2 separate regions of the Homo sapiens genome follow, and region 1 is linked to region 2. The links are contacts of gene promoters, found by promoter capture Hi-C in blood cells and fetal thymus (Javierre and others, 2016). All regions are on one chromosome and are shown on one strand. Each heading gives the region's core, a stretch centred on a gene start or on the middle of the fragment in contact. The rest is flanking DNA. Distances are from core to core; before and after follow the strand shown.

Evidence for each region. The method cuts DNA at HindIII sites, captures the fragments that hold promoters and counts their contacts. A CHiCAGO score of 5 or more calls a contact.
Region 1: the fragment with the promoter of SLC4A9 here is called in contact with the fragment with the promoter of PFDN1 in region 2 in 1 of 17 cell types (monocytes); the score reaches 6.9 in monocytes.

What each region holds. Positions count from the first base shown.
Region 1 is chr5:140,356,059-140,363,184 of GRCh38, reverse strand. SLC4A9 (solute carrier family 4 member 9) reads right to left here and starts at 2,991. Exons shown (of 22, transcript NM_031467.3): 1 at 2,719-2,991; 2 at 2,213-2,373; 3 at 1,818-1,931; 4 at 1,322-1,377; 5 at 1,011-1,168; 6 at 653-740; 7 at 119-273. The coding sequence starts at 2,948. RefSeq lists enhancers at 1-110, 1-130. The HindIII fragment of the contact is 10,887 bases long and covers 1-7,126 here.
Region 2 is chr5:140,298,698-140,305,615 of GRCh38, reverse strand. It overlaps PFDN1 (prefoldin subunit 1), which reads left to right and starts at 2,515. Exons shown (of 4, transcript NM_002622.5): 1 at 2,515-2,575; 2 at 5,034-5,200. The coding sequence starts at 2,543. RefSeq lists a silencer at 2,406-2,610 and enhancers at 2,499-2,778, 6,170-6,686. The HindIII fragment of the contact is 1,473 bases long and covers 2,115-3,587 here.

The DNA of each region.
Region 1 (7,126 bases), core at 1,742-4,241, 57 kb before region 2:
TCCAAATCCAAAGATAGGTCCCTATCTCTTTCCTGGGACACCACCCCTCCTCAACAATGGAATTAGACCCAGGGCCTATATGGGCAGGAATCTGTATGGGATGATGGCTCCCAGGTACCTTTTGTGCTGAGATGGCAGACATTTGGGCGGGGGAATCCGGGCTGTTGGGTCCCACCGACCTGGGGGAAGCACTGTCACCTCCTCTAGGAATGCATCCAGGGCTGCCAGAAGGTCATGAAGGTTGCTGGCCCGACGAACTGACCACTGGAATTGCTGGGAATGGGGGCACAGAATGGGTGGTAAGTGCAAACCTGGTCTCTTACATGCATTTTCATAGTCTCAAAACTAGACAGACACAAGTCACAGAGGCAGACAAGTCATTCACACATTCCTTTATGCATGCATTAATTCATTCATTCAGTGGGTATCTATTGAGTGCCTACAGTGTGCCAGCACTCATCCAGTAATGGGGCTGCACTAGGAGACGAGGAAACTTCAGTCTCAGTGCTCACTGTGCCTCATTGCTGTATTTAGGGACACATACAGAGTCCACACACACACACTCACATGAGCCCATGCATGTATGCATGTGTGCACACACACACAGGCATGCACGCGTGCGCGCGCACACACACACACCTGCTCAGCTCACCGGGTCACTGAGGAGGACAGCTGCTGCCCGTCCCATCTCATGGTAGCCCTTTCCCAGCATACAGGGGCCCAGGAGAAGGCAGAAAAACCTGAGGAAGGAACCAGGCCCCAGAGATTCACAGGCTGCTTTCCCACAGGGCAGCCCTGGCCTCTGATGCTCAGCTCTGACCTATCAGCTCCCATAAACACACTCATTTGCACACCTACCATGCAGCCCTGACCACTACTCTCTCCCCAGACCCCTGAGCACCATCCTCCCCACAGCCTCAGAGAATCAGACTGAGACCCTCCTTCCCCTCCTCAGTAAAGACCCTTCTAGGTTCTGGGATCCCTGACTCCCACTCACTCAGTAGCCTCACCTGCTTGGGAGGGACACCTCAGTAAGGGACCCCAGTACCACAGGGTTCCGCAGTCGAACAAAGGCTCCCAGTGGCTGTGCCAGGAAGCCCAGCTCCCCTGCCAGCACAGTCCCTGCCTCAGCTCCTGGAGGTAGCTTCTGTCTCAGGGGGTTCTGACACTGGATGGGGGTTCAAGGAGACACAGAATATGAAAGGTTATTTGGGGAGGATAAGATCTCAAATGATGAGAAATCCAGTGGAGAGTAGACTTTTGTTAATTTCTAACCCCTCTCCCAGCCACTGGAAAGGGACCCCAAGGAAGGGCCACAAACCTGTTCCCTCAGGGGGGCTTCCTCATTGTCAGAAGCCTTTCTTGGATGAGTAGAGCCTACAAAACAGGATTATGCAGTGATTAAGACCACAGGCTTTGGGGGTGGATCCACCAGGATTCCCTAATCACTTTTGCCACTGACAAGCTGTAAGAATTAGAGTATACCCTTCTCCACTCTGAGCCACAGTTTTCTCACCACTAAAATGGGGATAATTGTGGTACTATTTACAGGGTGGTTGTGAAGATCAAATGAGATACTGTGAAGATCAAATGGTAGGCCTAGTGCCTACCAAGTACATGTCTTCACAGAACTCTCTTACGATTCTAGCCCCCTGAATCTTCTCCCCACAACATTACCACCAGTTTCCTCTTGCTCATGAGTCCTGGGTTGGAGCCTGAACTAAGCCTGGGCTACTTCTAGCCCTGGAAGGTGCAGGGGAGATCTGAGACCCTGCCACACCAGGGTCTTGGTCCTGGGCCCAGGGAGGGGCTCTCACCCCAGCAGGGCCTGGTGCCTGTGGTCTGGTTGTAATGCTGGGGTCTCTGCAGCAGCAAGGCCTGCAACTGCCCTCTCAGCTCTGGGCTCAGCGACTCCACCCTGGTCACCTGCTCTGGAGAATGGATTGGGGGTCATCTCCTTCCTGAGAGTTCCCTGCCGCACACTCTTCCCCTTCTCCCTCTGCCCAGACACCTTTCCCTTCTGGGAGTCTCAGAATGCCAGGGCCAATGAACTTGCTCCTCCACCCTGCTTTTCCATGTCCACCCTGTGACAAGGGTAGACAATCCTAGGAGGGGTAGGGATGGGCTCTGGAAGATTTCAAGACTTTGGAGGGGAAATCCTGGGGAAAAGGCATGGCTACCCAGGCCCTTCCTGCAAAGGATCCCAGCCTACCCACGAGCTCCAGGAGGCTCTGAGCTGGGCAGTCCAGCAGTACAAGGCCCTCGGCCAGCAGGCTGCGGAGCTTCTGGAGGCTGGGCAGTGCCAGGGTGGGCACGTGGGGGGCACTCCACCGGCCTGCAGCCACCTCCAACTTCTCCTCAAACAGTACCCACCTGTGATGAAGGTGGGTAGACAGTGTTATTGAGGGCATTTCTCCCATGTCCAGGAGCAGAGATGCAGAGGAGCTAGGGAAGGCAAGGCAATGAGGGCATCCTGGGCCCAGTGGTGTGAAGTCTCCCCCCCACCCTGGCAGTCACCCCTCATCTAGGGTCTTGGGGATCTCAAAACTAGACTGCAGAGGAGGCTGGGCATCATGGAAGGTAAGACCCTGAAATAAGGGAACACAGCTGGGAAAATCCTAATTTTGGGCAGCCCCATAAGAAGCGCTGGGGGACATATAGGAGGCTCCAGCTGGGGAAGGGGAAGGATCCCACAGAACTGGCCTGCATCCAACTTACCTGCCTGTCTCTCTCCACTCCAGCGCCTGGGGCCAGCCCAGCAGCTCATTCAGCTGAATGAAGAGCAGAGGGTCTTTGGGTACTCCCAGTTCCTTGCTCTCTGTGTCTGAGGGGCCATCAGGGCTGGGGCCGGTGCCAGGGTCAGGGTTGCTGTCCAGCTCCCCTGAAGGAATATTTCTAGGAGCACTGGAGGCTTCAAACCCTTCCTGGCCTGGCAGCTTCATTTCCATGAGGCTTGCACAGAATCTCAGAACCAGTACAGTCCTAGGTTCTGAAGCCAGGGGCCCTCTGGCTGGTTGCATTTATAATGCATCCCCCACTGCAGCACAACACAAACAGAACAAGGCCTGCTGACTCCAGACTCTACCGGTCACCTACTCCCCTACTTGCTTACCCCACCCCCTGCTGGCATAAGAGTATTTGTAAGACTAGTCTGGCCTTTCCCAGGCTCTCCAGAAATGCCCAACCTGGGGCCAAAATGTGTATGTGCATTTCCTGTGGTATCAGGTCTGATCCCACTGTGTTTTGTGTAAAGAAACAGGAGTAAATGATTGGCTTGGGTCTGAGGACTTGGTACCCCCAGATTTTGCTGCCCCCCTCACTTGTATCAAATATAAATACCAAACACCCAGGACTGTTTTGGGTGTCACCAACACACCCCTGGGGCCACAGACACACCTATTTGGACAAACAGGGACCTAATAAATAATTGAGTCCATGGAAGCCAGACAGGGTAAGGGAGATAGCAGGCAGAGGACCTGCCCATTAAATGGGATAATGGTGGAAGACCTAGTGTCTGAGTCTTAAATTCTTTTCTTTTCTTTTTTTTTGAGACAGGGTCTCACTCTCTCACCCAGTCTGGAGTGTAGTGGCACAGTTATAGCTCACTGCACCTTTGACCTCCTAGCTCAAGTGATCCTCCCACCTCAGCCTCCAAGGTAGTTGGGACTACAGGTGCACGCCACCATGCCCAGCTAAGTCTTTTATTTTATTTTATTTTATTTTTGAGACGGAGTCTCGCTCTGTCGCCCAGGCTGGAGTGCAGTGGTGTGATCTCAGCTCACTGCAACCTTCACCTCTTGGGTTCAAGTGATTCTCCTGCCTCAGCCTCCCAAGTAGCTGAGATTACAGACATGTGCCACCAGGCCTGGCTGATTTTTATATTTTTAGTAGAGACAGGGTTTCACCATGTTGGCCAGGCTGGTCTCAAAAACTCCTGACCTCAGGTGATCCATCCGCCTCAGCCTCCCAAAGTGCTAGGATTACAAGCGTAAGCCACTGTGCCTGGCTGCCCAGCTAACGAGTCTTAAATTCTTTTGTCCAACAACACTTAGGAATTCCCTAATTTAGCTGTGTCCCTGGGATCTGCCCTGTGAGGATGGAGGAGCCCACTAGGGGGTGTAAGTGAAGGAGTTCCTGGAGCTAAATGAGCAAAGGAAAATGTGGTCCATTATTTGCAAATCCTGTTGACTCTATCTTCAAAATATACCCATAATCCAACCACATCTCCCCACCTCCAGCACTGCTACCCTGATTCAAACAACCATCATTTCTCACCTGAATTATTTCAGTAGCTTCCTGGTCTCTTGTAATAACCCCCCTGCTTCCACTCTTCCTCCCTTGCCCAAAGTCCATCCTCCACACCATACATGTCCTTTCAAAAGGCAGTTGAGCCACATTACTCTTCGGTTCAATACTCACCCAACACACTCCCATTACTCCTAGAAGAAGAAGAAAAAAAAATCAAGCTCCTTGTCGTGGCCTGCAAGATTCACACCCTGGCCCCAACCCACCTCTCTGACGGCATCTCACACCAGCCTCCCCTCGCTCACTCCTTTCTAACCACACTGGCCTTCACCTGTTCTGCAAAACCTGTTCCTGCCTGAGGATCTTTGCAGGATCTATTTTCTCTGTAAGGAAAGCCTTTCCCCCATATCCTTACATGACAATCTGTGACCTAGGTCTCATCTCAGACGTTAGCTACTCACGGAAATCTTCCTTTTCCATCCTATCCTAAGTTTCTTTCTTTTTTTTTTTTTTTTTTTTTTTTGAGACGGAGTCTCGCTCTGTTGCCCAGGCTGGAGTGCAGTGGCATGATCTCGGCTTACTGCAAGCTCCGCCTCCCGTGTTCACGCCATTCTCCTGCCTCAGCCTCCAGAGTAGCTGGGACTACAGGCGCCCGCCACCACGTCCGGCTAATTTCTTTCTTTTTTTTTTTTTTTTTTTTGTATTGGTAGAGACGGAGTTTCACCGTGTTAGCCAGTATGGTCTCGATCTCCTGAACTCGTGATCCACCCGCCTCGGCCTTCCAAAGTGCAGGGATTACAGGCGTGAGCACCGCGCCCGGCCCATCCTACCCTAAGTTTCTCTCTTGGGTCACTCTCCATCACATTTCTCTGTTTTATTTTCTTCCTAGCAGTTACCACTACTAGTAACTGCCTCATTTATGTATTTGTTTATCATTTATTGCCTGACTGTCCACGCACGCACACGCTGAAATGCACAGTCCGTGGAGCAGGTATCTGTCTTGGCCGCGGCGCCTAGAGCGGCGCCTGGCACGTAGTGGCTCTCAATAAATACTTGTTCAATGAGAGCATACAAAGGACCGGGCTGAGAAAAGAGCCGCGCTTCTCCTGGAGGCCACACGAGGGCACTGCTCCCCTCAGACCGGATTGCTAGGGCCGCTCCCTTAGGCCCAGTGGCTGCAGACCTGCCGGGGCGCAGAGATGGAGATGCCCAGATGGCAGGGAGAGATCCTAAACCCTCAGCCTTGCCCTGGCCCACCGCGGAATGGCCCGGAGAGATGGGGGGTTGGGGAAGAACAACAGGATGGGGAAGGGAGGGCCAATCAGGCTCATCTGAATGTAGGTCAGCCACACCCCACATATTGAATACCAAGAATCCATCCCCTGAGAAAGGGCACCCAGGCCGGCCCTACCCCCAGCCTCGCGTCTGGTCCAAGGAGGTCCCAGGGCAGGAATTAGAAGAGCATGTCACTATATTTCCAGTTGGGGAGGGGTGCTGAGTCTGAGTGAGGAGGTGGTTTCAGTGCCAGGAGGAATAGAAACTGGCCTGCGGACTGAATGGGCCTTGAACCCCTGTGACCACTCCCTTCAAGAATGTGCCCCAACCTTACGGACAAGTGACTCAAAGGAGCCTGAGGGGGATGGGAGCAAGGATTTGGCGTGAGTACCTCCCCCACATGCACATACATACATGTTCCCTTCCCACCCAACTCCTGCCAAAGTTCAGAGTGTCTATCCTTGCCCTTTCTGTGGCCCCAACTACCCTGGCTCACAGTGCTGCCTGGAATAGGGGGCCACCATGCCTCCACCCTCCCCAGGTCTCACTTCCACCTCTGGGCCTGAGTGCCCTGGGCTGGGTAGGCTGGTGAGGGTTGGCCTGTGGGCACCAGTGGTCTCCCAGACAAGGCCCAGGGAAGATGTGCTGTGTGGGTGAGCAGCCCTGTGTGTGGGCGCTGGAAAAAACCCTGACCTAGGAGTTCAAAGACTGGGTTCTCATCCTGGCTTAGTCACAGACTTATTGGATGTCTTTGAGTAAGACCCTTCCCTTCTCCAAGGCTCCATTTTCTTACATGTAAGTGGAGACAGTTGGGGTAGATTATTTCCAAGGTTCAAATCATACTTTCATGCAGTACACTGGACCTTAAGTGAGAGGAAGTGGCCTCAGGAATAGGATGCTTGGCTTGCTCACTTTCGGCAAGTGGAGAAGAGGTTTATCTTTGCTGAATCTAAATTTTCCTTCTTTCTTTCTTCCTTTCTTTTTTTGACACAGGGTCTTACTCTGCCATCCAGGCTGGAGTGCAGTAGCAATCATAGCTCACTGCAACCTCAAACTCCTGGGCTCAAGTGACCCTCCTGCCTCAGCCTCCTAAGTAGCTGGGACTACAGGCACGTGCCACCAAGTCTGGCTAACTTTTAAATATTTTGTAGAGAGGGGCTCATATGTTGCCCAGGCTGGTCTCGAACTCCTGGGTGCAAGCCAATGGCTTCCCATAGTGCTAGGATTACAGGCATGAGCCTCCACACCCAGCCCCTTACAAGGTTTTTAACACTTTAAAAAAACAAAACAAAAAAATCTTATTGGCTGGGCACGGTGGCTCACACCTGTAATCCCAGCACTTCGGGAGGCTGATGCGGATGGATCACTTGAGCTCAGGAGGTCGAGACCACCCTGAGCAACATGGCAAAACCCCATCTCTACAAAAAATACAGAAAACTAGCAGGGCATGGTGGCACACGCATGTGCTGCTAGCTACTCAGGAGGTTGTGGTGGGAGGATCGCTTGAGCCCGAGAGAGGTTGCGGCTGCAGTGAGCCCAGATCGTGCCACTGTACTCCAGTCTGGGCAACAGAGCGAGACCCTGTCTCAAAACAAAACAAAACAAA
Region 2 (6,918 bases), core at 1,266-3,765:
TATTACCCTTAAGTAGTATAATCAGTATTTGTACCCAGGTTGTCTGACAGCTTAGCCCAGGCTCTTAACTTTTACAGTCCATACATCTCTATGAGGACTCTTTCAAAAGTCTCATGAGGTAATGTACAGGACAGTATTTCAGACTTTTTTTGAATTTCAATATTCAATCACTATTTTATTTTATTTTATTTTATTTTATTTTTTGAGACAAGGTCTCACTCTGTCTTTCAGGCTGGAGTGCAATGACACAATTGATCCCCACTCACTGCAGCCTTGGCCTCCAGGCCTCACACAATTCTCCTGCCTCAGCCTCCTGAGTAGCTGGGACTACAGGGGCATGCCACCATGCCTGGCTAATCAGTCAGTATTTATTGATCATCTGTAATGAGAATCTAAGAAGGTCCCAGAGAATCAAAATATCAGATCCTTTTTACTCTTTCTCAAATTGGGGAGGAATGAGTCTTCTTTTTTTTTTCCAGAATAATTTATTCACATCCAGTATCCATTTTGTATTTTTTTCCCGTGATGCACTGTGACAGGTGTTCTAGGTACAAGAGGTGGAAGAACCATTATTCCATAGTTCTTGATTTCAAGGAGCTTACAGTCTAAGAAAAATGTTTTCTAAAAAAAGGTAGACAGTGTTATATGCCTTGAGAGAGAAATAGATGTTGTGAGGGGAGTTCAGAGGAGAGATTATCTTTGCTCTGTGTGATGGGGGATGTAGTGCCCATTTGCTGGACTTTGAAAGACAAACAGGACGGCGATTAACACCAGTGATTTATTGAGTATCTACTTGTGTGCATGGAGCTATGTTTGGAGCTTTTTATCCTGATCTCATTTATTTCTCACAATAACCCTGTTAGGTCAATATGGTCACTCTCAAACATGAGAAGACTGAAGCTCATTAAAAATAGGTGGCAGATGCTGGACGTGGTGGCTTGCCTGTAATCCCAGCCCTTTGGGAGGCCGAGGCAGGCGGATCACTTGAGGCTGGGAGTTGGAGACCAGCCTGGGCAACACGGTGAAACCCGTCTCTACCAAAACTACAAAAATTAGCCGGGCGTGGTGGCAGGCGCCTGTAATCCCAGCTACTCGGGAGGCTGAGGCAGGAGAATCACTTGATCCTGGGAGGCAGAGGTTGCAGTGAGCCGAGATCGTGCCACTGCATTCCAGCCTGGGTGACAGAGCGAGACCCTGGCTCAAAAAAAAAAAAAAAAAAAAAATGTGGCCGGGTGCGGTGGCTCAAGCCTTTAATATCAAAGCACTACAGCACTTTGGGCGACCAAGGCGAGCGGATTGTTTGAGCTCAGGAGTTTGAGACCAGCTTGGGCAACAAGGTGAAAACCCGTCTGTACAAAAATATAAAAATTAGCTGAGTGTGGGTGGCGCGCGCCTGTAGTCCCAGCGCTACTCACGAGGCTGAGGTGGGAGGATCGCTTGAGCGCGGGAGGTAGAGGCTGGAGTGAGTCGTGATTGCACCATTGCACTCGAGCCTGGGTGACAGAGCAAGATCCTGTCTCAAGAAACAAACAAACGTACAAAAAAAAAAAAAAACCCCACAAAATATCCAAGTGACTTGCTTAAAGTCACACAATTAGTAAATGGAACCAGACATAGGCTAAAGGCAGACCAAGCCTTGAATCTAGATTAGGCTGGTTCCAAATTCCCTGCCCTTTCATCTCCCTAACAGTTTGTTTTCTTTCTCTCTTTCTTTCTTTTTTTAAAAAATAAAATAAATTTCCTAATTATTTATGTAGCACTTTCTCTTAGCATAACAGTTTTTAGAGTAGGTTAACTTTTTTTTCCATTTCCAAAAGTCAATTATTATCTATTCTGGTTCAAATGCCAGGTCCTTTTATGGCAGAGATTCTCAAAAAAGTGATCCGCGGAGGAGTTGCACCATTAGGTCACTGGGGTAGTCTGCAAAAGTGCAAATTTCCAGACCCCATTCTCAAAGATTCTGAGTACGTTTGAGATGAGACCCAGAGAACCTGCATTTTTTTGTTTTTAAACAAACGTATTCAGCCTCTCTTGAGAACCACTGTGCCTAGAATGTCTTTGGGAAGCTTTTGGAAGTAATAAGTTCGTTTTGGAAAGAACACTCCAGACAAGCTTTCCAATAGTCTTTCCCAAACTGTCATGCCTGAGGTTCTGGACTTACTCTTACTCATTCCTGAGAGCACAGCGACTAGCTGAAGGACTGATCGACTGATGAGGGTTTGACCTCATCTACATACATCTCAATTTAGCAGCACATATTAAGCTAGCTGGCAAACTGCTTAAAGCCACATGGGAAATCTGCGCGTTGGGCTATGTCTGGAAGATACGGAGGAGCAAGCCAGACCTGACCGGTCAGGTAGTGAAGACACGGAATCCGAAACCCAAATATTTCAGGAGTCAATTCTCAGAGAAAGATAAGAAGCCCGGTTAGTCCAACTCATGCGCAGGCGCAGAAGAAAGACCGGCGCACAAAGTAAGACGCGCCCTTCCCCACCCTATTTCAGTCCAACTCCCACTGCGCAGGCGCTTACAGTGCACCAAGATGGCCGCCCCCGTGGATCTAGAGCTGAAGAAGGTAAAAGAGGGTCTTTGGCAGGCGGAGGTCTTCTTTTTGGAGGCTGAGGGGACTATAGACAAGAATATCAAGTGAGGCACGAGCCTTGCAGAAGGAAGGAGGGTCCAGTGGACTAGGGAATGGTTTCCCAGAGTCCTAAGGCCTCACTGGGTCTCCATAAACGGGGTGGGGGGCGAGCGGCTCTTGCTGGGTAGGAGCCGGTTGGTCTGGGTCGGGTAAGTCTGCGGGCCTGTCTCGGGCTTGTCCAGTCTTTCTGAGCTCCAGAGACATTTCGTTGCGTTTGGAGGCTTCAGGGACTCACTTTCATAGTAAGAACTAAAGAGAGCATTTCAAATGGGGGTCCCTTCGGACCCCTTGCCTGAGCTGTGGCATCCGTAATTCTGCCTCATTTGCTTTGAAAAACTCCAAGTCCAACCTTTGTTTTTAGGCCATTTATTCGGTTCTGTACCTTGAAAGTTGCAATATCTACAGTTCGGAAAACCAAGCATTGTAGCAGCAATGTTCATTTCAGGATTTTGCCCCCCCTCCACTTCTTTTGAAGGACTCGTCAAACAAAACAAAACAAAACCTCCTTCTTTTGAAGGAATTGTCAAAAACAAAACAAAACCAGTAAAGTTTTCCAAATAAAACCGGTATCGGAAGGAATTGGGTTTCCTGTTTTCCTCAGTTGCTTATAAATGTGTTGTTATTCAGATTTTTGCTATCTAAGAATGATCAGCATTCTAACACCACTAATGACCCCAAACCAGTATGCTTTGTGCGGTGGGGTGGATTGGAAAGGACCCTAGAATTTATCTATTTTAAATCTACTTTTCTGGAAAAGGAACCAGTGCCAGAAAAGTCTGTCAGAAGTTGGGACTAGAATCCAGTATTCTCTGCCTTATCTCACACTTTTTTGACCACTATTTTGAGTTCTTCAGATGAGCAACATCTTAGTTAAGACTGCCTGTGGTCAACTTGTGTAAAAGAAATAGGACAGCCGAAATAGCTGTTGCTTCTAACAAATGAAGCTTTTGTTAGTGTTGTGAGGATATTATGTGTTTGTGTCTTGCTTTTGTTCTTCTTGTCTTGAATCTTGTAAATTTAGCTCTTAGGTGGAGTCTCTAATCTTTAACAGTATACTAGCTCATCTTTAATGGTATACTAGCTTCCTTAGCAAGCTGTATAGAGCAGTCAGATGATACCTGGAATTTTACATTTCAAAACAAAATTGTGCATTCTAAAAATTTACCTTTTCTTCTGTTAAAAGTACCGATTTAAATCAGGGTTTAGTGAATGGATTTGCCTCCCGGTACTTTTGAATTTATTGCTACATTTGAAACTTGCGGGCGGTGAATGCAAACTAAGAAAATGATTACAAACTTAAAATGAATAATTTTGATAACCAATTAATTAAAAAACTTGTTTAAAGGTTTTATCTTCTAATGTTTTTACAGGGTCCTTTTTTTGGGTGGAGACAAATAGGAAATTTCAGGCCCCTCCCCTTCCCCAAAGTAAATCTTTCAAAACCTTACTAGTAGGTGAAAACAAGGTCACAATAAAAATTATGTAGTAGCCTTTGCTGTGCATTGCAGTCACAGATGTTATTAAGGCACAAATTTAACAGCATGTGAAAGTCATTCCAGGCACTTCAACAAAAGTATCCAAGAACTGTTTATCTTCCAGTTAAGTAAGTGTACGCAAGGGTCAAATTTGGCCTGGTATCTGTGGATGAAGATCATGATGCAATTCTTTTGCCAGTGCTTTGCATTTTTTCTCACTCTCTTTCTTGGTCTTCCTCTTAAAAATGTTCATATTATGAATATTACTATAGACAGTGGAATGGAAAGATTGCTGAACTAAGGGGTTAGAAGAAATGGATTTAAATAACACCTGCCTTCCCCCCAGTAGTTGTTCAACCTTGTGCAAGCCACTTTTATCTCTTAACTCATTTGGTTACTTAATTTGTAAATTGTGGATGATGAGACTGCCAATGCTAACTCATGGAATTACTGAGAGGCATAAATGAGATATTTATTATATTTCCTCATTAATATTCTTATATTAATATTCCCATGTTAATATTTCAAACTAATGTGAGAAAGTGCTTTGAAACCTAATTGTGCAATACAAATGTAGTGAGTTATTACTTTTATGGTTCTTGTTTTGAATCTCTGGATTTCATCCTTGACTATTGCATTTATTTCTTTTACTACTCCTTGAGTACTTGCTACTTAATATGGTTATTACTTAATATGCATTTGATTTGCTTCACACTGATTGTATCTTCTGATGATTGTAAATTCAGTATTTAGTATGGTGACTTGATTGTTTACAGTTATGTTGACTTTTATTGATGTTTGGTAAATTTCACAGCTTTGTCTCTGGCTAGCATATTTTGTTTTAATATATTTGGATTTGAGGTAAATGTTTCCTGTAAAATGTTTTACCTACTAAATCATGGACTTGTTTTTATTAGGCCTTCACAGAGCTTCAAGCCAAAGTTATTGACACTCAACAGAAGGTGAAGCTCGCAGACATACAGATTGAACAGCTAAACAGAACGAAAAAGCATGCACATCTTACAGATACAGAGATCATGACTTTGGTAGATGAGACTAACATGTATGAAGGTGTAGGAAGAATGTAAGTAAAATGTGTCCTTAATGGAGTTATTTTGGGAGTGCTTTTGTCCGAGTTAAATAGAATTTGTTCATCTTAAAACTTGGGTTAGGCCAGGAGTGGTGGCTCATGCCTGTAATCCTGGCACTTTGGGAGGTCGAGGCGAGTGGATCACTTGAGGGCAGCCTGTTGGCCAGTATGGTGGAACCCTGTATCTACCACAAATACAAAGATTAGCTGAGCATGGTGGCACTTGCCTGTAGTCTTGGCTACTTGGGAGGCTGAGGCAGGAGAGTCGCTTGAACCCCGGAGGTGGAGGTTGCAGTGAGCCGAAATCATGCCACTGCACTCCAGCCTGGGCAGCAGAGCTAGACTCTGTCTCAAAACAAAAGAAACTTTGGTTTAAAGTAAGTATCTTTTTCTTTTTGAGACGGAGTTTTCGCTATATCGCCCAGGCTGGAGTGCAATGGCCCGATCTTGGCTCACTGCAATCTCCGTCTCCTGGGTTCAAGCGATTCCCCTGCTTCAGCCTCCTGAGTGACTGGGATTACGGGCGCTTGCCACCACGCCCTGCTAATTTTTGTGTTTTTAGTAGAGACGGGGTTTTACCATATTTGCCAGGATGGTCTGGAACTCCTGACCTCCTGATCCGCCCACCTCAGCCTCCCAAAGTGCTGGATTACAGATATGAGTCACCACACCCGGCAGGTTAAAGTATCTTAGAAATAACTTTAAAGATTATCTAATTAAATGCTTTCTTTTTTTAAAATGAGGAGCTGAACTTCAGGTAGATTAATTAAAGTGTTTAAGTTTAGACTTTAAAGTACATTTTTTTTTTTTTTTTGAGACAGAGTCTCGCTCTGTTGCCAGGCTAGAGTGCAGTGGTGTGATTCTGGCTCACTGCAACCTCCGCCTCTTGGGTTCAAACAATTCTGCCTCAGCCTCCTGAGTAGCTGGGACTACAGGCGCATGCTACCATGCCCGGCTAATTTTTGTATTTTTAGTAGAAATGGGGTTTTACCGTGTTGGCCAGGATGGTCTCAATCTCTCCTCTTGATCCGCCCGCCTTGGCCTCCCACAGTGCTGGGATTACAGGCGTGAGCCACCGCCCCTGGCCTCAAAGTACATTTCTTAAGTGCTTACTTTCCTGTTCTGTCTATGATTAGGTACTTAAGTGTAAGTTCAGTAATAAAAATGATTTGTCATGGAAAATGTTTATAGCAATATTATATTGTATGTGAAGAAGATTTATTTAAGTAGGTGCAGTTTTAACCTCCTCTTCCCTGCTTAATTTATTAGGAGTGATACAAATCATAAATCTTTCAGATGTCTGATCAGTGTTGTAAAATAAAAATAAAAATTCAATTGTCATTTAAATACACTCATTCTGGCCAGGCATAGTGGCTCATGCCTGTAATCTCAGCACTGCAGGAGGCCAAGGTGGGTGGATCCCCTGAGGTTAGGGGTTTGAGACCAGCCTGGCCAACATGGTGAAACCCCATCTCTACTAAAAATACAAAAATTAGCGAGGCATGGTGGCGCACACCTGTAATCCCAGTTACGAGACTGAGGCAGGAGAACTGCTCGAACCCAGGAGGTGGAGGTTGCAGTGAGCCGAGATTGCGCCATTACACTCCAGCCTGGGCAACAAGAGTGAAACTCTGCCTCAAAAAAAAAAAAAGTAAAAAATACACTCATTCTAAGTGTCATGCATTGTTCTAATAGGAGGACAACTCACATGT